Linked DNA regions of Homo sapiens: region 2 is linked to region 1. The links are contacts of gene promoters, found by promoter capture Hi-C in human tissues and cell types (Jung and others, 2019). All regions are on one chromosome and are shown on one strand. The core of a region is centred on a gene start or on the middle of the fragment in contact, and the rest is flanking DNA. Distances in the headings are between cores, read along the strand shown. Region 1 holds the start of MAVS (mitochondrial antiviral signaling protein). Region 2 overlaps RNF24 (ring finger protein 24).

Evidence for each region. The method cuts DNA at HindIII sites, captures the fragments that hold promoters and counts their contacts. A contact is called where the count stands out against the background at its distance.
Region 2: a fragment that was not itself captured here is called in contact with the fragment with the promoter of MAVS in region 1 in 2 of the 25 tissues and cell types used here (IMR-90 fibroblasts and bladder).

Annotation. Positions count from the first base shown.
Region 1 is chr20:3,844,160-3,849,720 of GRCh38, forward strand. It overlaps MAVS (mitochondrial antiviral signaling protein), which reads left to right and starts at 2,675. Exons shown (of 7, transcript NM_020746.5): 1 at 2,675-2,744. RefSeq lists an enhancer at 591-730 and silencers at 2,092-2,141, 2,572-2,951. The HindIII fragment of the contact is 19,994 bases long and covers 1-5,561 here.
Region 2 is chr20:3,966,617-3,972,177 of GRCh38, forward strand. All of the region lies in intron 1 of RNF24 (ring finger protein 24), which reads right to left. Among named protein-coding and RNA genes, the nearest start is that of RNF24, 46 kb to the right of the region's middle. The HindIII fragment of the contact is 3,961 bases long and covers 124-4,084 here.

The DNA.
Region 1 (5,561 bases), core at 1,425-3,924:
CCTACCTCAGCCTCCTGAGTAGCTGGGATTGCAGGTGCCCACCACCATGCCTGGCTGATTTTTGTATTTTTAGTAGAGACAGGGTTTCACCATGTTGTCCAGGCTGGTTTCAAACTCCTGACCTCAGGTGATCCACCCACCTCGGCGTCCCAAAGTGCTGGAATTAGAGGCGTGAGCCACCATGCCCAGCTAGATTATTGTTAACTGATCCAAAAGCCTTATTTGGATTTCACCTGAAGTCCTTTTTCTGTTTCAGGATCCAACCCAGGTTCCCATATTGCATTCAGTTGTCATGTCACTTTGGTGTCCTTTTCTCTGGAGCAGTCTCTCAGTCTCCTTGTTTTTCCTGACCTTGAAATTTTTGAAGAGTTATTCTGCAGAGCAGTGCTATCCAATAGAACTTTCAGTGATGATAGAAATGCTCTGTTTGGGCCTGACGCTGTGGCTCACACCTGTAATCCCAGAACTTTGGGAGGCTGAGGCAGGCAGATCACCTGAGGTCGGGAGTTTGAGACCAACCTGGCCAAGGTGGAGAAACCCCGTGTCTACTAAAAATGCAAAATTAGCTGGGCATGGTGGTGCATGCCTATAATCCCAGCTACTCGGGAGGCTGAGGCAGGAGAATCGCTTGAACCTGGGAGGCAGAGGTTGTGGTGAGCCGAGATCACGCCATTGTACTCCAACCTCAACAACAAGAGTGAAACTCTGTCTCAAAACAAAACAAACAAAAAAAATAGAAATGCTCTGTGTCACCGAGTATGAAGCCATTAGCTACATGAAAATAGCATTTGAAATGTGGCTCATGGGCCAGGTGCAGTGGCTCACGCCTGTAATCCCAGCACTTTGGGAGGCCAAGGTGGGTGGATCACTTGAGGTCAGGAGTTTGAGACCTGCCTGGCCCATATGGTGAAACCTCGTCTCTACTAAAAATACAAAAATTGGCCGGGCGTGGTGACATGCGCCTGTAGTCCCAGCTACTCGTGAGGCTGAGGCAGGAGAATCACTTGAACCCGGGAGGCGGAGGTTGCAGTGAGCCGAGATTGGGCCACTGCACTCCAGCCTGGGTGAAAGAGTGAGATTCTGTTTCAAAAAAAAAAAAAAAAAAAAAAAAGAGAAATGTGGCTCGTGGGTCTCAGGAACTGGCTTCTAAGTATTATTTAATTTTAATTAAAATAGCTACATGTGGCTAGTAGCCATTGTATTGGATAGGACAGCTGTCAAATGTCTCTCGTTTTGGGTTTGCTTACTGTTTCCCTATGATTAGTTTCAGATCATGAGCTTTTGATAGGAATACCATAAGCATGTTGTTGTGTTCTTCTTTGTCTAAATCTTTATAAAAGCTGTTGATAGGTGGCAGGGAACCACCTAGTCAGGCAGTGGGATTGTTTGAATGCTCTTTGAGGTCCAGCAAAGACAGGAGTGATAGCTGCACTTGGAAGCCCGCTCCTACACTTTCAATGTTCTTCCTGAAAGAATTAGATATGAAGCTGCTAGAGCTGCTCCGGTGGGGAGCAGGCAGGATTGATTCTTGAACTAATCAACATTTATGCCCTCTTGGCTAAACTAGGCAGAGCTGGTTTTATTACAGTTCAGGTGTGATTAAGCATACTTTGTAAATGCTGAAGGTTGTGAAATATTCACAGGGATATAAAGTACAGTAATAAAACCTCACTTGAGGCTGGGCGTAGTGGCTCACGCCTGTAATCCCAGCACTTTGGGAGGCCGAGGTGGGAGGATCACCTGAGGTCAGGAGTTTGAGACCAGCCTGGCCAACATGGTGAAACTCCGTCTCTACTAAAAATACAAAAATTAGCCGGGCGCAGTGGCATGTGCCTGTAATCTCAGCTACTTGGGAGGCTGAGGCAGGAGAATTGCTTGAACCCAGGAGGTGGAGGTTGCAGTGAGCCGAGATCGCGCCATTGTACTCCAGCCTGGGCGACAGAGCATGACTCTGTCTCAAAAAAAAAAAAAAAAAAAAAGAATAGAAGACCCTGTGCCTGGAAGATCGTAGGTGCTCAGTAAGTGCTGGCCTCTGCCCCAGAAGGGGAAGGGCGAGGCAGATGGCAGGAACTGCGGGAGGTACCTGTCCCAGGCCCTTGGGCGTAAGAGGCCTCTCCCACGCAGCACCCAACCCATACCCAGCCTGCCCGCCAGCCAACCTTGGCGTCCCTGCCTTGCGCCTACCTACCCAGCAGTCCCCCGCCCGCTCCCACTCCCACAGGCCCAGCGTGCACGTCTCCAGGATAGGCATCCTTGCCCCTGTGACTTCAGCGGCACCCAACGTTTATTGGGCACTAACTGTATGCCAGGCCATGGGGGTGCCGGAGAGAACGACACGAAGACCCTCACCCCTCAAAGTTCCCAGGGGGAGGAGGGGCTGCTTCACTTGGGAAGCGTGGGGATGGAATTCTCAGCCCCCCGATGACTCCGAGGCCGGCCACCTGCCTGGTTTCTGGCCGGACACCGGACTTCCCCTGGAAGTTGCTCGAGACTGCGCGCCCCCAGCAAAAAATCAGGTCGGTTCTCCGAGCCCAGTCTAGCGCTTCCCGACCCGCAAACCAAGGCCCAGTGACCGTCCCCGCTGCGCAGCCGCCTGCGTCGCCAGCCAACCACGCGCGGCCGAGTAGCCCCGCCCCTCCACATGGCCAATGGCCGCGCGCTCTGCCCGCCCCGCCTCCTCGCTGCGGGAAGGGTCCTGGGCCCCGGGCGGCGGTCGCCAGGTCTCAGGGCCGGGGGTACCCGAGGTAAGATCGCTTCCCGGGCGTTGGGTCCTTTCGGCTCAGCACGCACGGACGCCTTTAGGGAAGGTGGCTGCAGCGGCAGGACGGAGTCCGCCGGGACGCCCTGGGTCTGGGGTGCGCGGGGGGCCCAGGAGGGGACAGGACGCGCGGGGATCCGGAAGAGCGGGCCCTGTCGCAAGAGTTTCGGGAACACTGAGGGCTCCAGGCGCCGCATCCAGCATCCGGGGAAAAGGGGGTAGGTGGCGCTGGGCGTCTGCTCAGGCTGGGGGAAAGGTAGGGCCAGAAGGGGACGGGCAGCGGCCGCTGACCTCCTCCTGCCGCCCGCGGGCCCAGGGTGACGCTAAGGTGGGGCCGAGCCTCGACCGGGTGCGCCTAGAGGTCGAGTGCTGCCGCCCTCCGCTGGGTCTGGACAGTTCTCGGCGGCGACACCAGCTCAAAACGGCCTCCCCGCCCTCCGCGGACCTGGGTCGCGCCCAGGAATCCGATCCAAGGCTGTGAGGCCTGTCCCTTTGGGAAGGGTGGGTGTTTATTTCCGGGATGCACTCAGAGCCTCTGGACAGTCAGGTCGGAAACTTTGCTGTATTGGGAACACTCTGTCACCTACTTCCTTCTCAGTTGGGAAGGAAGTGCCAAGAAAACATGAAACAAACCAAAAACACGAAAAAGGGATTCTCTGTATGGAAGCCGTGAAGCCTCAAAAATATCTAGGAGGACAGCCAGCGACCTGGGACCTGTGGCAGCCATGTGAAAGCAGGGTTAATGTCTGGACTAAATGTTGCTTCCACCTAAGTGCACCCTCAGCCTCCCTCCCGCCAAGTGACCTTGGGTCCTCTTTGGGCTTGAAGGCAGGTGGCTGTGTGGGTCTCGCTGCAGGGGTCTCTGTGCCCTGCAAGGTGTATGACCAGTTGCAGTGAGGCAGCAGGTTTTGGGTTCAAATCCTGTGCTAGCCTCTGGCCAGCTGTGCACCTTGGCAACACTTTCCCTGTCACGGGATTGGGGAAGGATTAACTGAAAGAACCTTAGGATGTGCCTGTCTACAATGGGCCCTCCATAAATGTGAACAAATGTGGGCTTCCTTTCCTTTTGTTTGGGCCACATCATCCCTTCCCCTCCATCTGTGGCTGAAGCTGGAATGCAGAAGAGTGCCTCATCTGACTGCCTTCTGGTACCTGGCTGATGCCATGAGAAAGGAAGGAGAAAGGGGTCTTTTTTTTTTTGAAATGGAGTCTCACTCTCTTGCCCAGGCTGGAGCGCAGTGGTCCAATCTTGGCTCACTGCAACCTCTGCCTCCTGGGTCTAGAGATTCTCCTGCCTCAGCCTCCTGAGTAGCTGGGACTACAGGTGTGTGCCACCATGCCTGGCTAATTTTTGCATTTTTAGTAGAGACGGGGTTTCACCATGTTGGCCAGGCTGGTCTCAAACTCCTGACCTCAAGTGATCTGCCTGCCTCGGCCTCCCAAAGTGCTGGGATTCCAGGCGTGAGCCACCGCGCCCGGCCGAGAAAGGGATCTATTAACTCCCATAGAGTTGTTCTTTGCTAATTTCTTGAAGGCTCAGAGGACCCCCGCCTCACCTTCCTGATTCTCCTGACCTGTCATTAGTACTTGCCCCACGAGGAATGTAGCAGGGCCTGCTGGCTGGCAAAGCAACTCATGCATGTGAGGCTCTGAGGCCAGTGACAGGACTGCTTCCCCTGTGAGGAAGGTCTGGTGGCCCAACAGCTTTTAGGTGCTGTCTGCTCTACAGCACTGCCTCCTGAGAGAGGTCTCATGCCTGCCTGATGCCCACTTGGTCCTCTCCTGCCTCCTTCCCTCCCTGACAACCCACTTGGAATCCAATAGCATCTCAAACTTCACTTGTTCCGAACTGAGTTCTGGAGTCCCTTCTGAGCCACTGCTCCTCCCCTGGCTTCTCTGGCCTGGTAAAAGGGCACCTTCCATCCACCCAGTGCCCAAGGAGTCATGCTTCTTTTCTCTCCCTTATCTCCTACACCCTCAAAACACCAGGAATCTGGCTGCCTCCTGCCATCTCTGTGGTTCCCATCCTGACCATAGTCATCCTGTCTCCTGGGCTGTGGCCTCCTTACTGGTCTCCCAGTTTTCATCCTGGCCCCTCCAAAGTCCTCACAACCACCAGAGAAGTCTTTAATGTAAATCAGATCCTCTTCTTTCCCTGCCGGAACCTTCCAGTGGTTCCCTGTTTCACTCCAACTAAAACCCAGAGTCCTTTCCTACAGCACTCTACATGAGTGGCCCCTGCCACCTCCTTGACCTTGACAATCTCTGCCCCTTTCCCTAGCTTGCTTGCTTTTTTTTTTTTTTTTCCTATGATGGAGTTTTGATCTTGTCACCCAGGCTGGAGTGCAATGGGATGATTTCAGCTCACTGCAACCTCTGCCTCCTGGGTTCAAGCGATTCTCCTGCCTCAGCCTCCCGAGTAGCTGGGATTACAGGCGCCCACCACCATGCTAATTTTTGTATTTTTAGTAGAGAAAGGGTTTCACCATGTTGGCGAGGCTGGTCTCAACCTCCTGAGCTCAGGTGATCCACCCGCCTAGGCCTCCCAAAGTGCTGGGATTATAGGCGTGAGTCACGCAGCCAGCCATCCCTAGCTTTCTTGACCTAGACCACACTGACCTGCTTTCTATTCTTCAAACATGCCAAGCTCATTCTTGTTTTAGGACTTTTGCATTTACCATGCTCTCTGCCTAAAACACCAATCTTCTCAGAGCCTGAGAACAGCTCAGCTGTGTTCTGCACGCTAGTTCAGAAAGGCTTCTTTGACCCCCTAGTTCAAGTAGCATGCCTGTCTCCAGGGGCT
Region 2 (5,561 bases), core at 854-3,353, 120 kb after region 1:
GGGAGCTCTTCTGCATGCACTGACAGCTTTCTGTCAGGTGGCCTGCCAACCTGGCCTCCAGATGCAGGAACTAGAAACCATGTCTGGCCAAAGGCAGCCATTAATACAGGCTAGCTAGGAGTGAGGCCAGTGGTGTGGGAATGTTGCCCTGCAGAGTTCTTGAAATTGGTACAATTCTTGTAGCATTCTGTACAAAGACTCAGACACACACAGCAGTAGAGGTAGTAGCACTGTCATCAGAGGGAAGAGACATCTGCCTTAGTGCTGCTGGGGGCTGGATGTTGAGACTTTTGTGAGTCCTCACTACCTGGCAGGGCCTTTTAATAAATCCCAATTACCAGAGGGATCCAGGCTGGTAGAAGATATGTTGATGCGAATATATTTTAGGAATTTTTCTCTCTTTGTTTTAGTAAATAAAATGGCTTCACTACAATTGATATGTTGGCCCAACAATTTTAAGTAGATGGTAGAGTATTCCAAGATGTTAATCCTGATCCAGTGACACATTAGTTTTTACAAAATTTTTATCATAATGTATTTTCACCAGAAGTATTAATCTTTTAAAATAAATTGATAAAAGGCTACATATCATCTTAGTAATATGCATTCTTTGCTATTGAAGTCTTACAAATATAAGTTATTTAGTAATTGCTCCTTGTGGGAGTGAAGAGGAGAAATAGAACATACAGTACACTGTTGTAGCTTACTTGGCATTTCCAACTTCATTCACGTGAAAGCCTTTTTTTCCCCTTATGTAAATTCAGTTCTTGAAATCTCTAGCCTCAGCCTAAATTTCAAACCACCCAGTCAGTTTATTAAAATCAAACCAAAACAAAAAAAAAAGACAAGAAGATTTGAGTATTTTATCAGCAATCTTAGAACCAAGAAGTTCTAAGAGGGACAGATTACTTGAGATTTGGATGCCTACATGACCTGAGTTTAACACAATACACCACAGCTAAATGGGGCTGCAGTAGCATTCCTCAAAGCATGCTTGGTAGCCACATTCTTCTTAGACCAGTTCCTGTTCCCTGGACAATACCATATCATCTTCCCAGGAGTCAATATTCTAGTTTTGCTTCAAAAATGCTCAGAAGTGCCGGGTGCAGTGGCTCATGCCTGTAATCCCAGCACTTTGGGAGGCTGAGGCGGGCAGATCACGAGGTCAGGAGATCGAGACCATCTTGGCCAATATGGTGAAACTCTGTCTCTATAAAAATACAAAAATTAGCTGAGCGTGGTGACGCATGCCTGTAATCCCAGCTACTCGGGAGGCTGAGGCAGGAGAATCCCTTGAACCATGGAGTCGGAAGTTGCAGTGAGCCGAGATTGCGCCACTGCACTCCAGCCTGGCAACAAAAAAAAAAAAAAAAAAAAAAGAAAGAAAGAATAAAAAATGTAACAGGTGGCTGGGTGCGGTGGCTCACGCCTGTAATCCCAGCACTTTGGGAGGCCCAGGTGGGCAGATCACGAGGTCAGGAGTTCGAGACCTGCCTGGCTAATGTGGTGAAACCCCGTCTCTACTAAAAAATACAAAAATTAGATGGGCCTGGTGGCGTGCGCCTGTAATCCCAGCTTCTCAGGAAGCTGAGGCAGATTAGCTTCAACCTGGGAGGCAGAGGTTGCAGTGAGCTGAGATCGCACCATTGCACTCCAGCCTGGGACAGAGCAAGACTCCATCTCAAAGGAAAAAAAAAATGCTCAGAAAGGGGCTGGGTGCAGTGGTACATGCCTGTAACCCCAGTACTTTGGGAGGCTGAGGTGGGAGGACTGCTCGAGGCCAGGGATTTGAGACCAGCCTGGGAGACACAGGGAGACCCCACCTGTACAAATAAAAATAAAAATTAAAAAATTAGTTGGGCATGGTGGCATGTGCTTGTAGTACTAGTTACTCTGGAGGCTAAGATGGGAGGATCACTTGAGCCCAGGAATTCAAGGTTACAGTGAGCTATGATATCACTGCTACGCTCCAGCCTGGGTGACAAAGCAAGACTATCTCTAAAAGAGAAAGCTTTTGACATATTAGAAGGAACTAACTTCTTTGTTATTTATTGAGTATCTTTATGACCACATGAAACACCTTCTGCAAAATCTTTTCTTGAGTGGGTGGATGAGAGGAAAGATTAAAAATTTTAAAAACATGTCACTGATCAGTAGAAAGACCTAAGCTTTCTGATGAAATGGATACACTGGGTTCTAGAGAGAATTATTTTAAAAATAAGACCTATATTTGGACAGATCCTAGTAAAATTTCTGAATTCTAGGATAGAAAAACTGTGATAAGTTTCCAAAAAAAAAAAGTTGTTATAATGGAAAGCATATAGATTTGAGATTTATCCTAGGCCATGAGTATTAGAGTGGGCTTATGGAGTCAGAGAGCCAGGGGTTTAACCACGGATTTGTCAGTAATTTGGGGCTTGTTTCTTATCTTTTCTATGTCTCGGTTTCCTCATCTGATAAGACAGAATAATACTAGTAACTATTTCATAAAGTTTTAAGGGAATTAAATGACTCAACACACGAAAAGCACTTAAAGCACTTAGAACAGTACCTGGGCACATACTGTGTACTTGAGAAATGTTAGTTTTCATTATTAACTAAAATGCAACAATAAAAGATAATGGAATCACTGTCTGTATCTCCATTAAAAGACAGTCAGGTAGACTTCTGACTCCAGAAAGATGGCATAGACATACATTTCCCTATTTATCCAGCTAAATATAACTAAAAACCATGGACATTAAGTTGGACAGAAGGTAGCACACTAACTAGGGACCTGGGGACCCAAGGAACCACATGTTAACGAGTTCTCTGGGCTTTGTTTTTGTCTCCTATATCCCAGACTTAGAGCTGGCAAAGTTGGCAAACAAGAATGTCAACAGGTGAAGACAAAAAAAAAAAAAAGCCCTAATGAACGTGTTCTCTCTAGCCAAAGGATGACAAAAGGAGTAGTTAACAAGACTGAAAGCTTTTAAACAAGAATTGCCCTACTTCAGCTAAACAACCCAGAAAAAACTATGGCCACACCCCTATAGACATGCCAGCAAAGGCTGAAGGCAGAGCCTAGATTTTCACTCTTGCCAGGATGTAACGAGATGCCCCCCAGCCATCTTGCTGGGATAGTGTTAGAAAAGGCCAAGTAGGAAGCTGAAATCTGTTTTTTTTTTTTTTTTGAGATGGCGTCTTGCTCTGTCACCAGGCTGGAGTGCAGTGGTGTGATCTTGGCTCACTGCAACCTCCGCCTTCCAGGTTCAAGCGATTGTCCTGCCTCAGCCTCCCGAGTAGCTGGGACTACAGGCGCCCACCACCATGCCCAGCTAATTTTTGTATTTTTAGTAGAGACAGAGTTTCACCATGTTGGCCAGCTGGAATTTTTACACAACATGGTGAAAATGAGGCTCCACCTCAGTGATATCAGTAGAGACTACATGTGGACCCTGACTTCTACCCCTATCCAGCAGTAACAAAGTGACTATACTCCTCCTCAATGGGGTGATGACAGAGGAGGATCTCGTGAAGAATCGGGATTTTACCACCACCAAGTGGCAACAAGCACTCCTACCTTTTCCAGCCAAAGAGGTATCAGTGAAAGCCTAGTTGAGAGCTGGAACTCCCATTCCTGCCCCGTCCCCGCCCCCCATGTCAATAAAGGCTAAATAGGGAACCTGGACTTCTACCTTTACCTGGCATTAATGAAGCAGCATTACAACCCACCGTTTCACTGTCAGAGTGCTGTCAAAGGAAGCCAGTTAACACATCAGGTTTAAAAAAAATCCAGAGTCTCATAACATAATACACAAAATGTCCAGGTTTCAACTAAAAATTACTCATCGTACCAAGACTAGGAAGATCACAAATCAAATGAGAAATGATAATTAACAGATGCTAATGTCAATGACAAAAATGTTAAAATTATCTGACAAAGATTTTAAAGTAGCCGTCATCAAATTGTTTAAGCAAGCATTTATGAACATGCTTGAAACAAGTGAAAACACTGAAATTCTCAGCAAAGAAACAGAAGATATAAAGAGGAACAAAATGGAAATTATAGAACTGAAAAACACAATAATTGAAATAAAAAAACTAAAACTAAGCGATGGGCTCAACAGCAGAATGGAGAAGAAAGGGGAAAGCATAAGTGAACTAGGGCCAGGCACGGTGACTCACACCTGTAATCCCAGCACTTTGGGAGGCCAAGGTGGATGGATCTCTTCAGGTCAGGAGTTCGAGACAAGCCTGGCAAACATGGTGAAACCCTGTCTCTACTAAAAATACAAAAATTATCCAGGCATGGTGGTGGGCACCTGTAATCCCAGCTACTCGGCAAGCTGAGGAATCTGTACATAAGTGTACAGATTTAAGAAGCTGAACAAACTCCAAAGAGAATAAACCCAAAGAAATCTACAACAAGACACATCGTAGTCAAACTTCTGAAAACTAAAACAACAACAACAAAATCTTTTTTTTTCTTTGCAGAGGTAATTGAGTTAAAACAACACTAAAAAATCTTGAAAGCAACTAAGGAGATACCATTGGGGGAAATAATATGAAAGACACAGATTTCTCATCAGAAACAATGGAGGCCAAAAGGAAGGAACACATTTTTCAAGTGCTGAAAGAAAAGAGCCATCAACCCAAAATCCTACATCCAGCAAAAATACCCTTCAGGAATGAAACAGGAAATCAAGACAGCCTCACATGAAGGAAAACAACGGGAATTTATTGCTAGCAGACCTACTCTTGAAGAGTGACTAAAGGAAGCTGTCTTAACAGAAGGGAAATGATAAGAAAAGGAACCTTGGAACATCAAGAAGGAAGAAACAACATGGTAAACAAATATAAGGGTAAATACAATAAACTTCCTTCTCTTGAGTTTTCTAAATTATATTCAGTGGTTGAAGAAAAATTATAATTGTCCAACCCGGTTCTAAATGTATTCAGAGGAAATATTTAAGATGAGCATATTAAAAATAAGGGAGGATAAAGGGACATAAAAGGAGGTAACATTTCTAGTCTGAACTGGTAAAGTATACTAGTAGACTGCATATATAATACAATGCCTACAGCAATCAGTAAGAAAACTATACAAAGACATACACTCAAAACACTACAAAAAATCAAAAAGGACTTCAAAAAATTACTCAAGTAACAGAAACAAAAATAGTGAAAACAAATAGAAAACAAAGTTTAAAATGGCAAGCTTAAGTATAAATGATTTAAATATGCCAATTAAAACACAGAGACTGGCAGAATGAATTAAAAAACATCACCCAATAATATGCTGTCTACCTGAAACTCACTTTAAAAATAATGATACATGCATGTTGAAAAGGATGGAAAAAGATATGTAATGCAAGCATTAATCAAAAGAAAGCAGGAGTGGCTATATTAACATCAAAGCAGATTTCACAGAAAATAAAATTACCAGAGAGAGAAAGAAACATTACCTAATGATAAAATGGTCAACCCACTAAAAATACATAGCAATCCTAAATGTGCATGCACAAAACAACAGAGCTGCAAAACATGTGAAGGAAAAACTGACTGAACTGAAAGGAGAT